Regions from separate parts of the Homo sapiens genome. Here regions 2 and 3 are each linked to region 1. Evidence: promoter capture Hi-C in 16 types of primary human blood cells and fetal thymus (Javierre and others, 2016). All regions are on one chromosome and are shown on one strand. Each heading gives the region's core, a stretch centred on a gene start or on the middle of the fragment in contact. The rest is flanking DNA. Distances are from core to core; before and after follow the strand shown. Region 1 holds the start of BEX2 (brain expressed X-linked 2). Region 2 holds the start of TCEAL9 (transcription elongation factor A like 9). Region 3 holds the start of TCEAL5 (transcription elongation factor A like 5).

Region 1 (3,782 bases), core at 669-3,168:
ATCATAAAGGAAATTTCTATGAACATTCCTATGCAAATATTTTTGAGAAAATATGTTTTAAATTCTGTTGGGAAAATTCCGAAAAGTGGAATTTCTAGGACATATGGTAAGTCTAACTTTTCAAGAAACTGCCACCAAGTCTCAGAGTGGTTGAACTTCTCACCAACAATCAGTGAGAGTTTCTGCTGTTTAGTATTTTCAAAAGTGCTTGGGACTGTCAGACTTTAAGTTCAGCAATTATAATGGGTGTGCAGTGATTTTTCATCCTGGCTTTATTTTACATTTCCCTGATAGTTAATGAGGTTGAACATCTTTTCATGAGCTCATTGGTAATTTGTGTGTGTAGTTTTGTGAAATGTTTATTCAGATCTTTTGATCATTTTTACTGCATTATTTGCCTTCTTATTTTATGTTTTCGAAGTTCTTTATATATGCTCTGAATTCAAAACCATTGTCAGATACAAATACTGTGAATATTTACTCCCAGCTTCTCACTTCATTTTCTTAACCATGTGTTTTAAATGGTAGAAGTTTTTAATTTGGATAAATCCAATTTCTTATTTTTTTCTTTTGTGATCTGTTCTTTTTGTGTCCTAAGGAATTGTTTTCTCAAAGATTGTAAAGTTTTTCTGTATGTTTTATTCTAGAAGTTTTCTAATTTGAGCTTTTACATTTAGGCCTAGGATCCATTTTGAATTAATTTGTGTATAGTATAAATAAAAGGCAAGGCTCCTTTTTTTCCTTTAAGAATTCTGTTATTTCAGCACCATTAGTTTAAAAGACTATACTTTCCATATAGAATTACTTTGATATCTTTGTCAAAAACTAATTAACAACATACGTATGGGTCTATTTCTGGAGTCTATTCTGTTCTATTGATCTACAGGTCTATGTTTACTACTACACTAACTTTATTATTACACCTTAAGTCTTGAAATAATATAATGTAACTCTCAAGATTTGTAGGATATTTTAAAAAAATTATTTGTCTATTCTAGGTCCTTTGCATTTTCAAATAAATTTATGAGTACGTTTGTAATATTTATCTTGTAGCTGCAACCTTCTTAAAATCAATTCTTACTCCTATAGTAGGTTTACCGTAGATGTCTCTGGATTTCCTAAATACATGATTACTTGATCTTTAAATAAAGACATACTTATCGTTTGAACCAGAAATTTGTGAAAAAGGCCTTTTTTTTCCTTTTAGTTATGAAAACCCAACAAGGTTCTGTAGCACTACAACTCACTAGCTCATTTCATAGAAGGGCCTCATGTGTCCAGGGGCCCCTCAAAAGGGGAGCCATCAGCTGCCCTGTCCTTTTCCAAGTTCTAAAAAAGCAGCTGCGTGTAGAGTCTATATTTATATAATGACTTAACAGGACAGGTGGTTGGGACATTTTGCCCAACTTTAATCCCGTCTTTCAAGTAAAAATAACTTTTTTTCCTTTTTAAAGAAGTATATTAATTTTTTGTGTTTTACAAAAGAAATAATACAGAAAAGGTATTAAGAATGAGAAAAGCCTACTCTCTTGTGCTCCTTTCCTGATACACCTCTTCCACTCATTTTAGTGGAGAGAAAACGGAGAATATTGGTAGGAGGACAGAAGGAGGTAGACAGGCAGAAGGAGGTGAATCCTGGGAGCCAAGGGCAGAGAGAGGCAAGTCCCCAGAGAAGTGGGAATGGCCAACAGCTCCCTGAGAAGATACCTTCCGTCCTTCCTGGGCAAGCAGGGGAAGTCTCAAGAATATACAGAGAAGGAAGAGTGGCAGAGCCCAGGCTGGGGATGTTAAAAGGGACTCCCGGTGAGGATGGGGGCGGGCCCGAAAGCACCACCTGACTCCGGGCTGCAGGAGGGGGCGTGGGACGGGGGCGGAGCCTCTGGCGATGACAACAGCCACACGTGATCGGCCAACACTGAGTCTTACCTCGTTGTGGCGTCAGAACCGCCGTCGCTCGCTCCCTTCTCGGCAGTGGTACCTGTTCCCGGTGTCCCTGAGGACGTGCGGGCCAGGTACGGCCCCGAAAGTAGGAAGCGGAGGGGGAGCAGGTAAGGGACCCGGAGGGGGTCCCTGGGGTTGGTGTGGGGGAGCAGCCCCGGCCTGCGGATGCCCCATCCCCGGGCAGCAGCGCGGAGACGCAGCCGGTCCACGATGCAGCCCCGGGGCCCCGCCGCGGGACCGCGAGCCTTGTGTGAGCGGAGGGGTGCCCGGCCCCGCGGGAGCCGGCGATCCTGAGGCTACGACCTTTCGGAAGCACCTGCCTCCGTCACCAGCGCAAGCTTTTCCAACACCCCTGCTCCGCCCTTCTTGATGCAGAAAATGGTGGTCAGCTTGGGGGGCTGGGCGGCTGAGGCGGGGGGCGAGAGCGGCTAGGAGGGCCCGGGCCCGGCGTGGGGAAGGGGCCGGGTGGCGGCGGGTCCTCTCTAGCGTTCCGCTGCAGCAGCCCCCACTCTTCCCACCCCGGCCGTCTGCAGGTTTGCGGGGCCAAGTGTTGCGGCGACGCACCTCACGTCGAGAATCGGGAGGAGGAGACTGCAAGGATAGGCCCAGGTCAGTGCGAGGGACGGTGGTGGGGAGGGGGTCAGAACATGAGGAAAGCCCAGTCTGAGACCCCAATCCGTGCCTTCACCCCCACACTTAGCAATCCCCCACCCCCACCCCTTCTTCGTCCTCCATTTTGGTGCCTGCAGAGGCCTGGAGATGGATCTGCAGAGAAGATGGTGGGCTTTGCGGGAGAGAAGGGCACAGACTGGCTCCCCTCGCCCCCCCGAGGGTACATGGGGCCTCTCTGGTGGAAAAAAAATGAAATTTAAAAAAGGCCTTTGAAATCCAGGGCTCTGAATTTTGAAAGGTGGGTAGTCGGGCCTCTGTCCTCGGTGCTGATCAGTTCACCAAGAATTGAGTCCATTTTCTCTCTGTCTCCTAGGAGTAATGGAGTCCAAAGAGGAACGAGCGTTAAACAATCTCATCGTGGAAAATGTCAACCAGGAAAATGATGAAAAAGATGAAAAGGAGCAAGTTGCTAATAAAGGGGAGCCCTTGGCCCTACCTTTGAATGTTAGTGAATACTGTGTGCCTAGAGGAAACCGTAGGCGGTTCCGCGTTAGGCAGCCCATCCTGCAGTATAGATGGGACATAATGCATAGGCTTGGAGAGCCACAGGCAAGGATGAGAGAGGAGAATATGGAAAGGATTGGGGAGGAGGTGAGACAGCTGATGGAAAAGCTGAGGGAAAAGCAGTTGAGTCATAGTTTGCGGGCAGTCAGCACTGATCCCCCTCACCATGACCATCACGATGAGTTTTGCCTTATGCCCTGAATCCTGATGGTTTCCCTGAAGTTAATAGGGAGACCCCTGCTTCCTAAACTTACACATTTGTGGTGTACCTTTGTCGTAAACGTTTTGATGTTACCTATTTCTTGTGGGTCTCCTATTACCAGCTTCTAAATGAATGTTGTTTTTGACCCAGTTTGTAAGTTTCTGTCAGCAGGAGAGTTTTACCTATTGCATGGAAAGATGCTCATTATATATTGTGAAGTTAATAAAACAGTTTTAAAAAGCATTCTCTGCATTCTTTTTTACTTTAAATCTTAAACATGCACCTAAACAGTCATATATATATATATATATATATATATATATATATATATATATACACACACACACATATATATAGTAAATAGTGTTTATCTCTGTGGTAGAATTAAGAGGGAGTTTATTCTTGCTTACCCATAATTTCTTATTTTTCAAAATGGAACACGTATTACTGATAAAAAGCAATG
Region 2 (3,782 bases), core at 385-2,884, 46 kb before region 1:
GATGCAGATAACAAGAGATACATCTAAAACCATTAATAGCAACAGGTTATAAGTAGAAATATGGACAAAGGAATATCAGGAAATGCTAATAAAAAGCAAGCTATATGGTATTGTTAATATCAGATAAAAATCAAGGTAAACTACATTAAATAGGGGTAAGGATGGTTTCGATTAACCTTCCAACGCATCACTATAAGTTTGTTTCTGACTCTCCTTATCTCATCTATTTCATCCACTTCTCTAAACATATCTTCATTGCTTAAATGCCTGTTGTGTATATCTTCTTTAAACTCCTGGAGAGATTGAATCAGCCTTTCTCTAAAAGTTCCTTTTGCTTTGGCCTCCTCCTCTAGCTTCTCCTCCTCTTCTGGCTTTTCCTCAGGCTTTGGCTCTTCCTCATGCTTTGGTTCACTCTCATTTTCTGGTTTTCCTTCCATTTTTTGACAGGATTTCATCTTGTATCTGTCTACCTCTCTTCCTTCCTTCTTTTCTTTCTTGCTTATTCTTCTTTGAATACAATGACTTCTAGAAAGCAAAAAGAAGACAGTAAGTTAAAGACTTGGTGAGTGGACAGGTGCTGTGGACAGAGGCCTTAGCATTTAATTTTTTTTATTCAGAGCTGTTATAAAATATCTTCCACCTAAGAAGCCCAGTCAGCAATCAGAGCTTCACTATCCCCACTCCTTTTACCTCCACTTTCCACCTCCTCACTTCTCTCTTGTCCTTCCCTCTAACCTTTTCCAAGGCCCTCCTTTCCGCCGTCCAGCCCTCCCCAGACCTTTTTCCCCCATAGGGCCTAACACAGGGACCAGGCCAGAAAAGAGAAAGGTGGCTGGCAGGCAGAGGAAGAGGGGAAAGGAGAAGGGGGAGAGAAAAGAAGAGGGGAAAGGGGTGGGGTGGAAGGGAGCCGGCAGGAACGGTGGCGCTTACAACCTTTGTCTCCACCCCAGGAGACTTTATAATATTCCTCTCACCTACCTGGCACTGATCGGGTCAGTTTCTTCCTCCTCCTTTTCTAGCTTTGGGTCTTGCTGGAAACAACAGCCCTGCAGATAAACTGGAAACGGGAGGGGACGGTGGGGGTGGGGCGAGCGCTTGGTGGGCCGACCAGCGCCAGAGACTGACACACGTAGCTTTCCTCCTTTAGGGTTTCGGATATGGAAAGTTTCCCACCTTTTGTTTCCCCTAGTTCACCCCCTCTCCACAGTGCATGCAAGTCAGTTCGTTTTTCCCATCAGACAAAGAGTGAGAAAGCAGATTATTTCCAAACTATCTTTAAGACTGAGGCGGGGTTCGGGAGGAGGGTGGGGGTCCGGAAAGCAGTCTTAGATAGCAGAGGATGATTATTTTTAAACTACCACAGGTCTCCCTGTTCTTCTCCTAGGACCCCTAGTCCCTTTCCCAAGGGTCATCAGTTCCCGTAGACCTGGAGGTGGAGGGTGGAGGGACGGACCTGACCGGCACTCCCACAAGTCTCTGCCTTAAACCCCCCCACACTAGAAATCCCCAGTCAACACCTACAGTGACACCAACCTGCAAAATTCCCGCAAGTTTGACTCCTTCCACGGGCCTCAGGGACCACCGCCTGCGCTGCTGAAGGAAGCTGGTATCCAGACGGGAACAAGGACCAGATTACCAGGACTTCTGCACACGTCGACTCCTGGTCACATGAGATCTACGTCACCAGTGAGCTCGGGTCCCTAATTTCCACTCCCACCAAAAGCGCGGCAGAAGTGGGCCCACCCTCTCTCCCTCCCCGCCCCCCACTTATACATTTGGCCCTGTCAGTCTTTTCTGTTGTTTCCTATCCCAGCGGGAAAAATGTTATTTGCTTGACTCTGATTACTAGGGAGGGGCTACCTCTTTTTCTGGAGCTACTGAACTTTTCTACTTCTTTCGAGAATTGTCTCTTCCATTCTTCCACTCCCAGGATAACTCCTCCATCAGTCGTCCCTCCTCTAGCCTCCATTTCCTCTGCAATCTGGTTCTTAGCTGTTGTAGAGCAGGGTGGCCTTGGCAGCAGTTGTGAAACAACAACAAAAAAAGACCCTGGAACAAGAGTGAGATTTCTGAATGCAATTTTTACTTTTTATTTTTCGTACTTCTATATCCTTTTTAAAAAGGTAACTTTAATCTCTCTCTCTCTCTCTCTCTCTCTTCTTTTTTCTGTCTTTCTTTCTCTTTTTTTTTTTTGAGACAGGGTCTCACTCTGTTGCCCAGGCTGGGTTGCAGTGGTGCGATCACAGCTCACTGCAGCCTCAAACTCCTCGAAACGAGTGATCCTCTTGCCTCAGACTCCCAAGTATCTGGGACTACAGGTGTGTGCCACCATGTCCAGCTAGTCTTTTAATTTTTTTGTAGAGACAGGGTCTATGTTCCCCAAGCTGGTCTCGAACTCCTGGGCTCAAGTGATCCTCCTGCCTCAACCTCCCAAAGGGCTGGAATTACAGGCCTGAGCCACTGCACTGGGCAACTTTTATCTTTTTATAGTCAGAAAAGACAAAGAAAAAATTACTTTAATGACATGAGTTAATACATGTACAGTGCTTATTGTACATGTGGCATATAGTAAGTGCTTTTAAAGTGAAAGCTGTTGTGATATTAGAAGTTTTGTGAGGAAAATGATACAGAATTTTTTAAAAAAGAGTAATGTTTCATTCCAGAGTCCTCATGGTGGTGTTACCAGGAAGCTGTGCTGCCTGAAGAATCATCAATTAATCGTCAGGTACACATTGTGAACCTGAGTTTCCTCATCTGAAAGAAGGGAATAATAGCATATGCTCATAGAATTGAGATCTATTGAAAATAAAAATAAGAGTTAATTTTTCATCTGTACAATTAGAAAAGACAAATATTGATTATATTCAGAGTTGATGAGCATATGGTAAAACAAATATTCACATGTACTGTGAGACTATTAAGTAGTACAACATTTTTGGAAGTCATTTTGGCAATATCAAACTTTAGAAGATATGTGCTTTTGGACACATCAATTCCTCTTCTAGAGATTTATCATACATTAATACTCCTATGCCAAATATGGTCATTGTAGTAGTTGTGGCAATAGTGTTTTTTTTAAAGAGCCAAAAACTTATATGTTTCTAAAAGGAAATTGGTTTAAGAAAAGTTTGATCATTCATATAGAGCCACATTATACAGTGATGAAAAAATGATGTGGAGTTACATTTACTCACATGAAAAAAATTGTTCAATGTATATTGTTAAACAAAAAAAGGCAAATTGAAAGTTAATTTTATATGTGGTATTACATTTTTGTAACAGTATACATATTTGTGTATTTAAAATATGAGTATACAATTAAATTACATGATAACATGATAAGTGAAGTCCAGAAATTCATTCTATAAAATTCCAGGTTATGTTACTGAGAGATGGATGGATGGAATGACTGATGTGAGTCTATTTGGCTAGCTGGCTACACAACCCAAATTCATCAAGGACTCAGCTGTGATTTGTTGCCACAAACAATTCTTCACTGAGCACTTGGACTTAAATATCATCCATCCATTTTACTCTCTCCCCACCTGCTATCACCAATCATGTTATATCCAAACTCAAGTTGTTTCAGGGTCTTACTGTATTTTTATATCATTAGAAATGCAGATGAATATATCCTGAACATCATAGGATATACTTGAGAATGTGTATTTCATATAAAGAGAACTTTTATTTTCTAAGTGTTGTATTTATATATTTAAATTACTAATAAGTTACACAAATTAATTCAAGATGGATTAAAGACTTAAATGTTAGACCTAAAA
Region 3 (3,782 bases), core at 697-3,196, 34 kb after region 1:
CTTCTTTCTGTCCTTTATGGTTTCCTCTTTTTCATGATGTCAACTTGCTTATATAAAATAAAAACATACATCCACACAAAAACTTATACGTGATTGTATATGGCAGCATTATTTATAACAGCTAAAAGATGAAAATGCCTAAATATTCATCAACATATGATGGATAAACAGAATGGGGTGTGCAAATAGAACAAAACACTATTCAGGCTCCTAGGGTACAGATCTTCTTCTCACAAGAGTGTGCATACTCCACTACTTCCTAAACATATGCAATTTTACATGCCCTTTCAGGTGGCCCACAGACTTCATCAATTGGGAATACTTGGTCTAGGTCAATATGGACAGCATGGCAGAACTCCTTAGACACTGGCCTAAATTTGCTGAGACAGTCATAGGTTAGTATGGACTGGCAGGCAGCAATCCTGCAGCAAGGTTAGGCTCCCTCTGGGTTCCCTGAAGATACAGAGTTTGGGGGTGAGAGGCCCGCCAGACTGCACTTTTTAGGCTAGGCGGGAGGTAACAGACAGGGTCTAGGGAGGCTTCCACTCAGGCACTGTGAATAAGGGCAGAGAGCAGGCAGGTTGCAGGGGACTCTACCCCAGCAATCACTTCAGGCCTCATGAACACCCTCAGCTGCAAGGGTCTAGAAGAGATCTGTTCTAGTTTTCTAGAGGCATGAACAATGCTCCACTCTGTGCTGGGGCTGGGTTATCCCTGTGGGAATTAGGGGGAGGGAGGAGGGAAGGAGCCAAAGGCATTTACTCATATCACCACCTTGGTCACCTGTCCAGTTATATTCTTGGACAGATGACTCTTGAGCAACAGAGTCATGTGCCTGGGGATGAGAAATGCAGGGGATGAGAAATTCTAGAATATGAGGGGGTGGAGAAGAACACCTTCCCCTGATCTTGGCAGGGCAGGGAGGATAGGACCATTTCTGCATCCTTCACATCTCCTGCAGCCTTGGTCTCACAGCTCTTCCCTTCCCCTAGAGCTAAACATTTGAATGAAAATAGCCATGAGCCAAATTTTTTAAAGAGACATTTTTGAATTTTCTTTCAACCATCAGATTCCAGCAAGTCTATTTAGCACTCAGTAATCGTTTGGGAACATTAAATGTGTGTGTGTGTGTGTGTGTGTGTGTGTGTGTGTGTGTGTGTGTGTGTTAAATAGAACGTGAGAGAACCAGCTATTTATGAAAAATTTCTAATGTATATTTTGCTTGTTGCCAATTGAATTCCTTGTGTATATGGCAAAAGTTAATATTATGAACCTAATTTGGTCTCTCTTCTGAGTAGAAAATTTTGAAATCTTTTAAGTTTTTCTCTCTCTTAAACACTTTCTCATAAATGAAATAGCTTTATTTAATTTTGTGCTTATAAGAATAACCCATGCTGAGGAGAGTGAATTAAATAAGATCAAAAAAATTTAAAAAAATAAAACCCCTATTTTAACTACTTGTGTCCCTACTTGACAATCCACCTTGTACCCATTATGAGAAGGTCTGGTTCACAGGCAGAATGAACATCAGTGGCTGCGTGTAGAATTAGATCGAGTAGGTGCCTTCGGATAAAAGGAGAGAAAGAAAAAAAATTCCTCTGAGATGTACCAATGGCCAATAGCTCTAGAAGAAGGTGCGGTCCCTCCCTGATAACCACGGAAGAATAAATACATACTACACAGAGAAAGGGCCACATTTGACCTGTGGGATTAGCAAAGACCAAAATGAGTGACAGGGCCCCGTGCTGTGGGGCGAGAGAGAGAGCTAAGCCGGGGTTGGGGGTGCTGAGGGCGCTCAGACGGACAGACTAGTGAAGGGAAGAAGTGGGCTGGCTCCTGACGCACTTTCTGCGGGTGGGAGGGGAACTAGGGACCCGAGCCCACTGGTGACGTTTTTCTCACGTGATCTGAAGCCGACGTGTGCAGAAGTCCCTCTCCTCCAGGTACCAGATCCCTGTTTCCGTGGAGGAAGGCAGACTTCAGACTGAAGGACAGAGAAGGCAACTGCCCTACAGCCCTGCAGGTCGGTACAAGCCGGGGACCCCTGAGGTAGGGATGGTAATGCACATAGGCTACAGAGGATCGGATCTGCTTTCTAGATACCGCCCTGTTCCACCCCCATTCATTTTGGCGCAGAAATTTTTTTGTGTTGGGCAAGAGGTATGGGTACCAGCTTTTATTTCCCTGGAGAAGTGCAGGCTTCTGGCAGAAGGAAATGTGAGAAAGAGTCATTTCCCCGAGATGGCTACGAACCCATCCACAGCCTGTGGATCCCTGTGGTTGGGATGGCAGAGGGCAAAGACCAGAGCGGGTCCAGGACTGGATTCTCTCCACTCCTTTCCCGATGCTCACTCATTTGGTGCAAGAAATGGAGGGCTTGGTGCGGGGCGGGGAGGGGGGAGGGGGGCGGAACTCGAGAGAGGTCAAGGGTTGAGAATTGGGTACCAGTTGGGAACTCCTAGGAAGCCGGCGACCGGGTGATGTCTGATGGAGGAGGAGGAGGACCAGGGAAGAGAACAGCGACGAAACGGCGAGAAAACGGCCTGATCCCTGCAAGGCAGCGGGAGGCGGGCACAGTCAGTGACCCCAGGCTGCTGAGGGCGGACCCTGCAACGGGTCCAGGCCTGAGTTCCCTGTGTCTTTTCTCCAACCTCCCTCCATTTTGGAGCCGGAAACGGTGGGCTAAGGGGGTCAGGGGAAGGAGGTGCTGTAGAAAAAGGGAGACAGAGGTTTGATCTGGGGATCAGCTCCCTATCCAGGAGGAGTGGCTTCTGAAGTAGGAGGATTGAGATGAGGTAGCAGCAAGACCAAAAATGTTACCGGGTTTGGAAATAATTTGTCTCTTGCATTGCAGAAAAATGTGGGCTTTCTGTGTATGTGGGGAGGGAGGAGGTGGCAGGAGTGTTTTGGACATTTCTGCCCTGCCCCCTATCTCTGTCATCACCATTTTCAGAGAAGTGGTGGGCTCTGCTATTTGGCTACCCTAGGGTGAGGGATTTGGAATGTAGAGATCTGAGTGCATCAGAACACTCTGTCTTCAGAACATCCTTGTCTCTAACCCTACTCATTTTCGTGCCAGAAAAGTGAGATAAAAATTTGGGAGGAAGATTCAGAAACATAGAAACGCTTTGGAAATAATCTTTCTCGCCTATTTCCCACAAGTAGAACAATGGAGGCTCTTAAGAAAGAGCTGCGCGCGGAGGGGGAATCAGAGAATGCAAGGGAAAAGGCGAGGAGGTGATAGGAGCTCGGAAAGTTTTGACAAATACGGTCCCAAAGAACCAGTGTCCAAGTTACCAGTCATTCACTTTCTCAATTTCTCATTCACCCACCTGTTTCTTGTCTTTCTGCAGGTCTTCAAGTCTGTGGTTGTGGGCACTAACCCAGACAAGAAAAGGAAAGACCTGCAGTATCGGTGCAGGTCAGTGGGAGAGGGCTACTGCACCAGGACCCTTGGGAGTAGGAGTAACTTAAGCCAGAGCAGAAGTTGGGGAGGCCACTGCCTGCCACCCCTCCTCCAATCCTCCCTCTTGCAGTTTCGGGATACATGACTGCTGTCAAGACCCTAAGGGGATATGGTGATCTATGGCTGGTGAGGATAGAGGGGAGAATAAGAAAGTAAGAGAATGGAGGTGTAGCATCTGTGATGCCCCCTGAGGACATAAGGGTAGCCCTGAAATCTGAGAACTGGCTATGGTTCTGTTCTGTCTGCAGTTTTATAAGTCTTACAACTGCATGCAAGGGGAAAAAGAAGAAAACTGCCCAGGATTTCTGCAGGTCCG

Evidence for each region. Contacts are between HindIII fragments. The CHiCAGO score rates a contact against its expected background, and 5 or more counts as called.
Region 2: the fragment with the promoter of TCEAL9 here is called in contact with the fragment with the promoter of BEX2 in region 1 in 1 of 17 cell types (erythroblasts); the score reaches 5.8 in erythroblasts.
Region 3: a contact is called between the fragment with the promoter of TCEAL5 here and the fragment with the promoter of BEX2 in region 1, in 1 of 17 cell types (fetal thymus). The highest score is 6.3, in fetal thymus.

What each region holds. Positions count from the first base shown.
Region 1 is chrX:103,309,126-103,312,907 of GRCh38, reverse strand. It overlaps BEX2 (brain expressed X-linked 2), which reads left to right and starts at 1,918. Exons shown (of 3, transcript NM_032621.4): 1 at 1,918-2,048; 2 at 2,475-2,550; 3 at 2,927-3,562. The coding sequence starts at 2,932. The coding sequence ends at 3,318. RefSeq lists a silencer at 2,093-2,182. The HindIII fragment of the contact is 10,238 bases long and covers 1-2,281 here.
Region 2 is chrX:103,354,358-103,358,139 of GRCh38, reverse strand. TCEAL9 (transcription elongation factor A like 9) reads right to left here and starts at 1,634. Exons shown (of 3, transcript NM_016303.3): 1 at 1,534-1,634; 2 at 979-1,057; 3 at 1-525. The coding sequence starts at 455. The coding sequence ends at 141. LOC124905204 (a long non-coding RNA gene) reads left to right here and starts at 1,576. Exons shown (of 2, transcript XR_007068284.1): 1 at 1,576-1,686; 2 at 2,664-3,782. RefSeq lists an enhancer at 982-2,181. The HindIII fragment of the contact is 9,435 bases long and covers 1-3,782 here.
Region 3 is chrX:103,274,914-103,278,695 of GRCh38, reverse strand. TCEAL5 (transcription elongation factor A like 5) reads left to right here and starts at 1,946. Exons shown (of 3, transcript NM_001012979.3): 1 at 1,946-2,023; 2 at 3,354-3,421. The HindIII fragment of the contact is 11,652 bases long and covers 1-3,782 here.